Regions from separate parts of the Homo sapiens genome. Here region 2 is linked to region 1. The links are contacts of gene promoters, found by promoter capture Hi-C in blood cells and fetal thymus (Javierre and others, 2016). All regions are on one chromosome and are shown on one strand. The core of a region is centred on a gene start or on the middle of the fragment in contact, and the rest is flanking DNA. Distances in the headings are between cores, read along the strand shown.

Evidence for each region. The method cuts DNA at HindIII sites, captures the fragments that hold promoters and counts their contacts. A CHiCAGO score of 5 or more calls a contact.
Region 2: a contact is called between a fragment that was not itself captured here and the fragment with the promoter of ZNF891 in region 1, in 2 of 17 cell types (M1 macrophages and total CD4 T cells). The highest score is 5.8, in M1 macrophages.

Annotation. Positions count from the first base shown.
Region 1 is chr12:133,126,696-133,132,801 of GRCh38, forward strand. ZNF891 (zinc finger protein 891) reads right to left here and starts at 3,579. Exons shown (of 2, transcript NM_001277291.2): 1 at 3,532-3,579. It overlaps ZNF10 (zinc finger protein 10), which reads left to right and starts at 3,932. Exons shown (of 5, transcript NM_015394.5): 1 at 3,932-4,059. RefSeq lists silencers at 3,195-3,374, 3,745-3,984 and enhancers at 4,035-4,314, 5,397-5,566. The HindIII fragment of the contact is 7,004 bases long and covers 2,967-6,106 here.
Region 2 is chr12:133,211,204-133,217,309 of GRCh38, forward strand. It overlaps ZNF268 (zinc finger protein 268), which reads left to right. Exons shown (of 6, transcript NM_003415.3): 6 at 1-3,629. Among named protein-coding and RNA genes, the nearest start is that of ANHX, 22 kb to the right of the region's middle. The HindIII fragment of the contact is 4,424 bases long and covers 627-5,050 here.

The sequences.
Region 1 (6,106 bases), core at 2,329-4,828:
AATCCCAGCTACTCGGGAGGCTGAAGCAGGAGAAATGCTTGAACCCAAGAGGTGGAGGCTGCAGTGAGCCGAGATGTGCCACTGCACTCCAGCCTGGGCAACACAGTGAGACTCTGTTTCAATAAATAAATGAATAAATAAGTAAAGCTGATCTAAAAGAAAAAGTAAGAATAAATAAAAAAAGACCACTATATGAGCAATTTAAGGTACCCCAGATTACTCAGAGTTCCAGAAAGAAAAAACAAGAGGAAGAAACAAACAAGTACAGGAAAACTTTTTTTTTTTTTTTTTTTTTTTGAGACGGAGTCGCCCAAGCTGGAGTGCAGTGGCACAATCTCGGCTCACTGAAACCTCTGCCTCCCGGGTTTAAGCAATTCTCTGCCTCAGCCTCCGAAGTAGCTGGGATTACAGGCGCCGGCCACCACGCCCGGCTAATTTTCTTATTTTTAGTAGTAGAGATGGGGTTTCACCATCTTGGCCAGCCTGGTCTTGAACTCCTGACCTCATGATCCACCCACCTCGGCCTCCCAAAATGTTGGGATTACAGGCGTGAGCCACGGTGCCCGGCCAGAAACTTCTTATTCCTTAAAAAAACACAGTATCTAAGAACTGATCCATCAAAGCAAGTAATTTCTTTAAATAATTAGAACACACATCATCATGAAATTTTTGAATACCAAAGAGCTCCAAGAGATGATAAACAGATTACACATAAAAGAACAAGGTATGAAATAGGACTTCTCAACAGTAACAGTAACACTGCTCCATTTCCTATCTAGCTTCACTGGCTTTCAAAATTCTAATGGAAAGTAATTTCCTATTGAGATGTGTATACTCGGTGAAAACACCACACAAATGTGAGGAAAAAGTAATTTCTAATCATTTCTACAACTTTAATATATGTAGATCATATGGACCCTTTCTTCAAGGCAGTTAAGATTACAATCCACCAAACAGGAATAGAAGTGCTTTACAGGAAACAGGAGATTTAACACAGAGGTGAGATGAGGAAATTGATGAGGGCAAAAGGGAAGCCCAGTGGTATGCCAGCGTGCTGCATGCCTACAGAGTAACTGATCAATCTACATTGCAGGGGGATGTCCAGGAAAGGAGAAAAGTGATAAGACTGTATGACAGATTAGCCCTTGAGGAAAATGGAACCAAAAGACATTTTACATAGATTTAAGAAAAACTAAGCAAATGAATAAAAAAGGCAGTCATTAAAAACAAGAAAGGTAAACCTTGCACAAGAAAGAAACATATTATGGCTCAGTACTAAAGAGTAGTCATCAAATGAAAACACTGAACATATTTATCCAAAATTTGTGGGAGAACTACATTATAATATTTGTAAAATAATTACATTGTGATTTAAGGATGTAGAAAGAAGGCAGCCAAAGTTCTTATTTAACATGATAAAAATTTTAAAATAATGTCACAAATCGGTGAATAAAAAAATACTGAGAGGAGTTCGAAGCCAGAACTGCTTAAATATTTCCAAGTGGTTGCCACTGGGAAGAGATGGGGTTAAGGTGTTTCCTGTTTTTATTATGAGTCTTTTAACATATTCAGCTCTTAAAAATGTACACACACATTTCTTGGAGCACAAATAAAGAGTAGTAAATTAATTACCCAGTCAAATCAAGAAGCAGATGGCCAGGCACGGTGGCTCACGCCTGTAATCCTAGCACTTTGGGAGGCCAAGGCGGGCGGATTGCCTGAGCTGAAGAGTTCGAGACCAGCCTGGGCAACACCGTGAAACCCCGTCTCTACTAAAAAATACAAAAAATTAACCGGGCATGGCAGTGTGCGCCTGTGATCCCAGCTATTCCAGAGGCTGAGGCAGGAGAATGGCTTGAACCCGGGATGTGGAAGTTGCAGTGAGCAGAGATCCTGCCATTGCATTCCCGCCTGGGCGAGAGAGAGAGACTCTGTCTCAAAAACAAACAAACAAACAAAAACAAAAATTAGCTGGATTAGCCGGGCGTGGTGGGGCCTGAGGCAGGAGAATCGCTTGAATCCGGGTGGTAGAGGCTACAGTGAGCCGAGATCACGCCACTGCACTCCAGCCTGGAGACAGAGTGAAACTCTGTCTCGAAAAAAAAAAAAAAGTAGAAAAACAGAGACAAAGTAAAAGAAAAATTTAAAAATTAAGAGCAAAACTTACTGTAATAGGACCCCCCTCCCCAAAAAAGACCAAAACAAAACAACAAAAAAACCAAAACCAAATCTACATTTTTGAAAAGACTATGTACACATATACCTTATAGGAGTAATCAAGAAAAAAAGGCCTAGATAATTAGGTTCAAAAAAGAAAAAAATAACAATTACAGCAGTAAAATATTAAAAAGTGGTGATTTTAAAAATCACCATAGAAATTACTTACAGTGATAAAATAGCATGGGCAATTTTATGCCAATAAATTTGAAAAATTAGATTAAAAACAATTATCTAGGAAAGGTATCTAAAACAGAATACGAACTAAAAAACCTAATCAATGAGACTTTTTAAAAAATTGAGTCAGGGCCGGGTGCGGTGGCTCACGCTTGTAATCTCAGCGCTTTGGGAGGCCGAGGCAGGCTGATCACCTGAGGTCGGGAGTTCCAGACCAGCCTGACCAACATGGAGAAACCCCATCTCCACTAAAAATACAGAATTAGCTGGGCGTGGTGGCTCATGTCTGTAATCCCGGCAACTCACAAGACTGAGGCAGAAGAATCACTTGAACCCGGGAGGCGGAGGTTGCTGTGAGCCAAGATGGCGCCATTGCACTCCAGCCTGGGCAACAAAGAGCGAAACTCTGTCTCAAAAAAAAAAAAAAAAAAAATTGAGTCAGAAGTTAAATGCGTACTAAATATTTTAAGACCAAATAGCACCAAACTTTTGGAGGCGGGCGGGGGGCGGTGAGGGGTGGTGACCTGTTTTACAGAATAGAAGAGAGACTGTGCTGTCCAAATTATTCATGAAGCTTGTAAAATCTTGTTAGTATAACGGGCAAGGATAGTACACAAAAAGATTAAAACACAATCTTGTGAGCATAGGTGAAGTCAAAGGGAAACAGCCAATTGAATACACCAGAGTATTAAAGAAATAAAACCATATCGCATTCAACCACAGTATAAGGCAATAGGTGAAAAAAACGATGGCTGTGATTCAACTCATTACTAGGTTTAGAGATTCAAGAGAGGCTGCTGGACAGAGGCGTGCACCCTTTAGCCCTCCCGTGTTGCTTAGAGAAGGAGGCAAACGCGCATCCCCGGCCCCCCAGCGCTCCCTGCGTGGCACCCGCAGCCAGCCCGGGACCCCTCCGCCCCGCGCGCCCCTGGTCCCCACTCGCTCCCCGCGCTCCACTCGCACCCGGTAAGTAGCCCCTCCTCCCTCAAGGGCCTCTCCCACCGCCGCCTCCCGGGCAGGCTCCCTGCTGCTCAGACTCCCGTGAGGCGATCCCTGCACGCAGGAGAACTCAGCGGGCCAGGCTGATCCCACGAGGGACTTGTCCCGGGTGAACGAGCCACAGGCCCGCATGCTCACCCGTCCTCAGTGCCTGCCTCCAGGCGTCCGCGGTCCCGCCCGAGGGGGACGCGAGGCCGAACTACGTTTCCCAGGAGCTCCTGCGCCGCCCCGCAGAGGGGCCTGGTCTGTGCGTCACGGACGCGCTCTGGGCCGAAGGCCCGCAGGGTCCGGCACAGAGTGGCGGCTGCGGCGCCGGCGACGAATCGCCGGCTCTAGGGTCCCGGGGCGCGCGGCTGACGGGCTGGGGGCGGAGCGTGGCCTGAACGCCAGGCTGGGGCGCGTGCGTAACGGTGTGTGTTGTGGGTGCGTGTGCGTGCGTTCGCAGCAGGGGCGGGCGTAGGACCAATGGGGGCGGGGCGCGTGCGCGTGCGTGACGTCAGGCCACGGGGAGGTGGCGCCGCCGTGCCGAGCCGGCCTCAGACTCACCTCTGACGCCGCTCTTCGCGCTCCGCTGGTGAATGGAGTCGCGTTCTCTGTTTTGCTGTTGCTGCTGCCTTTGTGACGGGATCGCTTTCTCCCATCGAACCTTCTAGTTGCTTATTGCAGGTATATACGAAAGTGCTGAATTTTGTGTTTGCATCGTCATCAGGCGCGTGTTGAGCCCTTTAGTAATGTAGCAGTGTATTAGCTTCGTATTTCTAGGTAGACGGTAATTTCGTCAATGAAAAAATTTAACGGTGATCGTCACCCCTTGCCTCAGTCACTTTCTGTCCCTCGCGCGGCCCCGGCGTTCACGGCGGACGTTCTTGTTCTGTGGAGAATAACGGCTGCACCTGGAGATTGACGCAGAGTGGGCGGCGGTGGTGGTAAGTTTGAACCAGATATTTTCAGTAATACAAAATAAGGTTTCTTCTAGTCTAACTTCCATTTTTCCCCCCAGCTGGGATAGATGTTTAAAATTTTGCATATGGCCTTTCTAGTATTTGTTGAAATAGTGACGCCGATTCGTGTGTGGTCTTTTAAAAACAAATCCTGCATCTCTAGCTCTTAGCTTCCTCATCTTTGTTTTGTTTTTTAATCAGATAGATTAACTGAAGGCGTGTTTGTGTGGTTAATCTATTTTTTTTATTTTCAGAGACAGATCATAAGTTTAATTACTATATTTTTATTTTCCCTTGACACTAGATATATATACGCCATCTAACACATAATATGAGTGTCAAAGATAAGGTTAACATCAAGATTTCGTACGTAGATCCCACCCAAAGTGTATGCAGAAGGTGAACAATTTCAATTCCAGCTATACATTAATTGCAGAAAGATACTGTTAATTAAAAAAAAAAAAGTAAAAGGGAAGGCAGGATGTCACCCAGAATGCCAGCCAACAAGTGTTATTAGGTTAGAAATGACTGCAGTTAGGTCTCCGAGAACTGGATAGCACAAATCCTCCCTACCCTTTTGAAAATTACCTCCACACTAACTTTTCTCTTGTGACATAACTAATCTCTTCTGTTTTACTAAAATTGTCCCCCATCTTCCAAAGCCTCTTGGATGGTAAGTTGCACACGCTCCTGCCTCTTTTTGAAAGTTACATTTGTTTTTTGATTACTTCTCTCAGCATGCATTTCTTTAGCTCTTAGTATATGCTAGTCACAAGGGCAGAGATTTGAGATACACATCATAAATTAAATGAGAATTTCTGCTTATCAGTATTTTATATAAGCACTGTCTGGAAATTCTACTTAGGACAATATTTAAGTAGATATGAGGCTTACCTTCTGGAAAAGAGATTACAAAATTATCCTTGTTAATTAATTAACTAATTAAGTCCCCAAAATGAGAAGAGATTCAATTACTATCAATAATTTGTAGTAAAGTGACTGAAAAGGAAATATATAAGCTAATAGATTGATTGCCGTCCTCAACAAGTTAGCACATACTTTTATTTTTAAAAAGTCTTCACAATAGGAAGAAAATAATTTTAGCTAGAAATATATGTGAACTATATGAGAAAAACTTCAAAACCTTACTAGGCAATTCTTACTAGAAGAATAAAGGATGAGTAAGAATAAAAACAGTTCTGTTTATAGATTATATTCAATTGTCAAGAAAATCTGAGAATTTTTTTTTTTTTTTTTGAGATAGAGTTTTGTTCTTGTTGCCCATGCTGGAGTGCAATGGCTCGATCTTGGCTCACTGCAACCTCTGCCTCCTGGGTTCAAGCAATTCTCCTGCCTCAACCTCCCTAGTAGCTGGGATTACAGGCGCCAGCCACCATGCCCAGCTAATTAACATATGCCAGTCACAAGGGCAGAGATTTGAGATACACATCTTAAATTAACAAGAGCAACAAGAGCGAAACTCCGTCTCAAAAAAAAAGTATTTTAAGGAAAAAGAAATTTCTTATTGTTAATATCTCTGTTGTGCCTACAAGAGACTCTTTTACTTTCATCAGCAGTACTCTTTCTAGCATGTCTCATGTCAGCCAGGGCTTTTAATTCTTCTGGCTATGAAGCAAGGTTGGGACAAGATATGATATAGGCCACCTTTGTCTGTGTATGTGCCTCTTTGACTCGTAATGAACATCCAAGAGCATTATTTTTTCCTCTTTCCACACAATATCTCCTTGCTGACTGATCCTAACATTTCCTGT
Region 2 (6,106 bases), core at 1,589-4,088, 84 kb after region 1:
AATATAAAAAAAAAACCCTAAAATTGAACAAGAAGACAACCCAATTAAAAATGGGGACAGATCCAAATACATACTTTCCAAAGATATACAGATGGTGGCCAGGCACGGTGGCTCACGCCTGTAATCCCAGCACTTTGGGAGGCCGAGGCGGGCAGATCACCTGAGGTCCGGAGTTCGAGACCAGCCTGACCAACATGGAGAAACCCTGTCTCTACTAAAAATACAAAATTAGCCAGGCGTGGTGGCGCTACTCTGCCACCAAGTGGTAGCTACTCCGGAGGCGGAGGCAGGAGAATGGCTTGAACCCGGGAGGCGGAGGTTGCTGTGAGCCGAGATCGCGCCATTGCACTCCAGCCTGGGCAACAAGAGTGAAACTCCGTCTCAAAAAAAAAAAAAAGAAGATATACAGATGGCAAATAAGCATACCAAATAATGCTCAGTGACACTTGTCATGAGGGAAAAGCAAATTAAAACAACGAGATAGCACCGCACATCTATTAAAGTGACTATAATCTAAAAATAAGTAAATTTGCAATTGCAACAGGAACTCTCATTCATTGCTGGTGCAATGCATAATAGTATAGCCACTTTGGAAGATAGTTTGACTTTTCCCCAAAGCTAAACAAAGCTTCACAATATGAGCCAACAATCACACTCCTAGGTATTTAGATAACTGCTTTGAAAACATAGGAGTTTGATCTAAACAAAACCCAGCATGTACTCACGTACAGCAGCTCTTTTCATAACAGACAAATACTTTAAGGAATCAGGATAACCTTCAATAGGTGAATGACTAACTAGGCTGGGGTACATCCATGCAATGGAGTCCTGTTCAGCAAGAGCAAGCTCTGAGGCCATGCAGGACATGGATGAATCTGATAGGCATATTGCTAAGTGAAAGAGACCAGTGTGAAAAGGCTGTATGATCCTATTTCTATGATGTTATGGAAAAGCAGAAACTACAGGGGTAGCAAACATATCTGTGATTGATGACGGTTTGTAGAGGGCAGGGAGTGAGTTAAATAGGAGGATATAATGATAGAAACAGGCACAAATGGGCCTTTGGAGAGTGTACTCCCTCTGCTTGGTGAAATTATGCTGGGTGTGTGTGGAAGAGCCTGGGATGTATAATGCCAGCATGAACAAAAAGGCCACTTATCACTCCAGGAGAGCAGGGTGTTCTTTCATCACACATGAAATTATTTCAGGATCAGTTCCAAGGGAGACTTTCATGTGTGATTTTATATATATATATATATATATATATATATATATATATATATATATATATATATGTATATATACACACACACATACACACATATATACACATATATATACACATATACACATATATATACACATATATATAATAAGAACATTTACCATTTTAACTATTTTTAAGTGTACACTTCAGTGGCATGAAGTACATTATTTCCATTATTGTGCAACTATCATTTTACATTCCACCAGCAGTGCACAAGGCTTCCAATTTCTCCACATACTTGCCAATATTAATTAGTTTGTTTCTCTCTCATTTCATAGGCATGATCATAACTCACTGCAGCCCCAACCTCCTGGGCTCAAGGGATCCTTCCACCTCAGCCTCCTGGGTAGCTGGAACTACAGGTGCCACTACACCCAAATAGTTTTTTGGTTTTTTTGAAATGGAGTTTCACTCTGTCACCCAGGCTGGAGTGCAGTGGCACCATTTCAGCTCACTGCAACCTCCGCCTCCTAGGTTTAAGTGATTCTCCTTCCTCGGCCTCCTGAGTAGCTGGGATTACAGGCATGTGCCACCATGTATGGCTATTTTTTGTATTTTTAGTAGAGACAGGGTTTCACCATGTTGGCCAGGCCAGGCTAGTCTCAAACTCCTGTCCTCAAGTGATCCACTTACCTTGGCCTCCCAAAGTGCTGGGATTACAGGCTTGAACCACTGCACTTGGCCTCCATATTTTTTATAATAGCCACTCTAACATGTATGAAATGGTATCTCATTGTGGTTTTGATTTTCCTTTACCTAATGGCTAGTGATGTTGAAAATCTTTTCATGTACTTCTTGGCACTGGATTTGGCAATGATTTATTGGATATGACACCAGAAGCATGGGAAACAAAAGAAAAAATAGGTAAATTGGACTTCACCAAAATTGAAAACTTTCGGCATCAGTGGACACTATCAAGAAAGTGAAAAGGAGCTGGGTGTGGTGGCTCACGCCTGTAATTCCAGCACTTTGGGAGGCCAAGGTGGGAGGATCACTTGAGGTCAGGAGTGCGAGACCAGCCTGGTTAACTTGGTGAAACCACGTCTCTACTAAAAATAAAAAAAAAGAGAAAAAAAAAAGCCGGGTGTGGTGGCATGTGCCTGTAATCCCAGCAACTCAGGAAGCTGAGGCAGGAGGATCGCTTGAAGCTGTGAGGTGGAGGTTGCAGTGAGCCGAGATCATGCTACTGCACTCCAGCCCAGGTGACAGAGCAAGAAAGCAAAATTCCATCTCAAAAAAAAAAAAAAGGCCGGGTGTGGTGGCTCACGCCTGTAATCCTAGCACTTTGGGAGGCTGAGGCAGGTGGATCACGAGGTCAGGAGATCGAAACCATCCTGGCTAATGTGGTGAAACCCTGTCTCTACAAAAAAATACAAAAAATTAGCCAGGCTGGTAGTGGAAGCCTGTAGTCCCAGCTACTTGGGAGGCTGAGGAAGGAGAATGGCGTGAACCTGGAACCAGTGAGCCCAGATCTCACCACTGCACTCCAGCCTGGGCGACAGAGCGAGACTCCGTCTCAAAAAAAAAAAAGGTGAATATAGGAGAAAAGACACTGTAAAATAATATACCTGATAAGGGTCTAGTATCCAGAACATATAAAGAACTCTTACAACCCAACAACAAAAAGACAACCCAATATCAAAATGGGCAGAGGACTTGAAGAGACTTTTCTGTAAAGAAGATATGCAAATAGCATATGAAACGATACTCAACATCACTAGCCATCATGGAAATATAAATCAAAAATACAATGAGATAACACTCCATACCCATCAGAATGTCTTATTATTTTAAAAACAAACCAGAAACAAGTATTGACAAAGAAGTGGAGAAATGTGAACACCGCTGTAAAATGGTAAAGCTGCTATGACTGACCCTTGCTACAACGTGGAGGAACCTCAGAAACATTGTGCTGAGAACCCAGCACAAGGCCACACACCTGTAATCCCAGCTACTCGGGAGGCTGAGGTGGGAGGGTCGCTTGAGCCTGGGAGTTCAAGTCCAGTCTGGGCAGCATAGCAAGACTCCATGTCTACAAAGATAAAAATAAAAGCAATGTGCAGAAAGAGGCTGGCCACAAAAAGGTCACATACTGTATGATACCACTTATATGAAATACCCAGAATGGGTAAATCCAAAGAGAGCATATTGGTGGTTGTCAAGGGTCGGAGGGAGGATGAAATGTGTGACAGCTGCTTAATGGATGGAGGATTTCCTTTGGGGTGATGAAACTATTTTGGAACTAAGAGGTGGTGGCTGCACAATGTTGTGCATGGACTAAATGTCACAGAAATGTACATTTTTAAAAGTTAATTTTATATTGTGTAAATTTTACCTCAATAAAAAAATCTAGTCCACAGCATTCCCTCACCAGGGTCAGCCCTCTTAGCCTCACATTTAAGTCCCTCCATAGCCCAGTGCTGCCTGGGCCTGGCCAACCACATTCCAGACATGTGCTCCAGCCACACCATCTGCCAGCTCCTAAACCCATGGCTGTTTCATCATTCCAGGTCCAGGTCACCTTCTGATGCCTTCACAGACACTAAGTGATCAGCAGTGCCTCCTTAGGGCACACAGGGTCTTTTGAAACTTGCATTGCTGGAATTCATAGCTCGGCACGTGGTATCCAAGGGTTGTCCCATTTCAATAAGGAGAAATCAGTGTTTTCTGACCATCACCATGCAGCTATCTTGCTCAGGTGACTCACAGCTATCTGCTAGGTATGGCTAGTTCCTTGTGCAGAGGGGAGGGCCAGGCTCAGGTGATTGAATGATTCACCTGCAATCACACAGCCTCCAAGTGAGGTTCACACTCAGGTTCCAGCCCAGAACCTCGTTTCCAGGTGCCACTCAAAGTTTGTGAGTCACATGAACCTGTGTCCAGGCCACACAGCAGAGGTAACCCAGCTGTGGGGGCACTTGTCTGGTCATGAGATGGCCCAAGTCCCACGTGAAGCCTCATGAGCCACACAGACCCTATCATAAATACACCAGCCTGGGGCTCCCCAGAGGCCAGCTCCAGGAAGTGGAATCATGCTAGTATTGTAATATTTAGTTAGAACTGAGGCCACCTGCAACTCGCTGCCATCTACACCGCTTCCACTCTCTGGTTGCTAACGATCAATGCTAGGGCCTGCCTCAACCCTGATGATTCAGCTCCACTGAAGCTCCCCAGAAACCTCCGGGGCTCTGCAGGCAAGCAGAGTGGGAGGGATGTTATCTGAGTCAGAAGGGGCTTTTGCCTTTGGAGGCCTGGGACTGTACGACTTTCTGCCCAGGTCACAGGAGGTATGGGAGCCCCCATGAGAGGTCCCTTGCTGTGGTTCACCGTCCAGAGAAGGACCAGCCTCTGGTTTTTCCTGCCTTCAAAACACCAGCACCTCAACCCCAGAACAGTCTGGATCCAGCCCTTACTGGGCAAGGGATCCCAATGCCAGCCCCAAACCCAGCAGTTAGGCCCTCCTGTGAACTGCCTGGAGCACCAGGTACAAGGATGGGGCACCCTGGGAGGGGCCATGATTACTTGGCACCAGCAGGGATATGGTGATCACCAGCAGAGACAGAGACACTGCTGGGGTTGAATTATATCCCCCAAATTCATATGTTCAAGTACTGACCCCCAGTAGCTGTGAATGCGGCCTTATATGGAAATAGGGTCTTTGCAGATGATAAATGTGAGATGAAGTAATTAAAGCCAGCCTTAATCCACTATGATTGTGTCCTTATAAAAAGGGGGAATTTGGACACAGACATGCATACAGGGAGGAAGGCTACTGAAGACTGAAGCTTCAATGTCACAAGCCAAGAAACAAGTAGAACTGGGGAGAGGCCTGGGGGCAATCCTTTCCACTCTTCAGAAAGAGCATGACTCAGTCTCCTGGATTTCCCAACTCGGAGACAACAAATCGTTGCTCTAAGCCTCTCAGTTTGTGGTGCTTTGTTACAGCAGCCCTAGGAAAGGAACACAGGCATGCTCCATCCACCACTCTCTCCAGACCACAGCTGCCTCCCAAGCCCACCCGAGAGGGTGAGTCAGGGAAGTAGGGCTCTTCATGGGCCACCACTGCTATTGGGTGGTCATTTCCACTCTGTCTGGAAGTCCTGGTCTCAGTTCTCAGTCTCCTGGTGCTGTTTTAGGCTCTACCTTGCTGTCCCTGGGGCTGCACCTGAGCCTCCACCCCTGTCCCTGGGGCTGTCCTGAGCTTCTACCTTGCTGTCACTGGAGCTGCCCTGAGCCCCCACCTCGCTGTCCCTGGAGTCCAGAAAGCCCAGGGCTGGCCAAACCCCACCCCTCATACCTCTCTTGGCCCCTCCTCCCAGCCATCAATCCACTGGAACAGCCATTATGTCCCTTCATTCTCTAGACAGGTGCCTCAGGAAGGCACAGAAAGGGGTCACACCACTTGGTCATGGTGCCTTACCTGTGTCCACTGGACTCAGGCTGGTCCTTTAATGGGATGAGGGCAGAACAGGCTGTGGGGCCACATCCCATTGTCAGAGAGGCCAGGGATAAAGCCAGAAAGGAGACAGGGGAAGGAAGGGCCTGTGGGCAGCAGTTCCTCCTCATAGGTGCTGAACAGAGAAAGTGAGGAGCCTCCAGCCTCCATCCTGGCAGGACCATCAACCACTGGTAGAGATCCCCTTTTGGGAGGTCCAGTCCTAGCCAAGGGCCAGCTCCAGAGACTTTGGTCCATTTTCTCTAGAATGGACATGATACAGCTGTCTGAGTCAGGACTCTAGAATGTTCAGGACTGAGCCCTGCTGAGGACAAGAGGGAACAACATGCCATGGAGATCCTTGTGCAGCCTGGGCCTCTGACTGTGACCAGCTAGCACCCAGT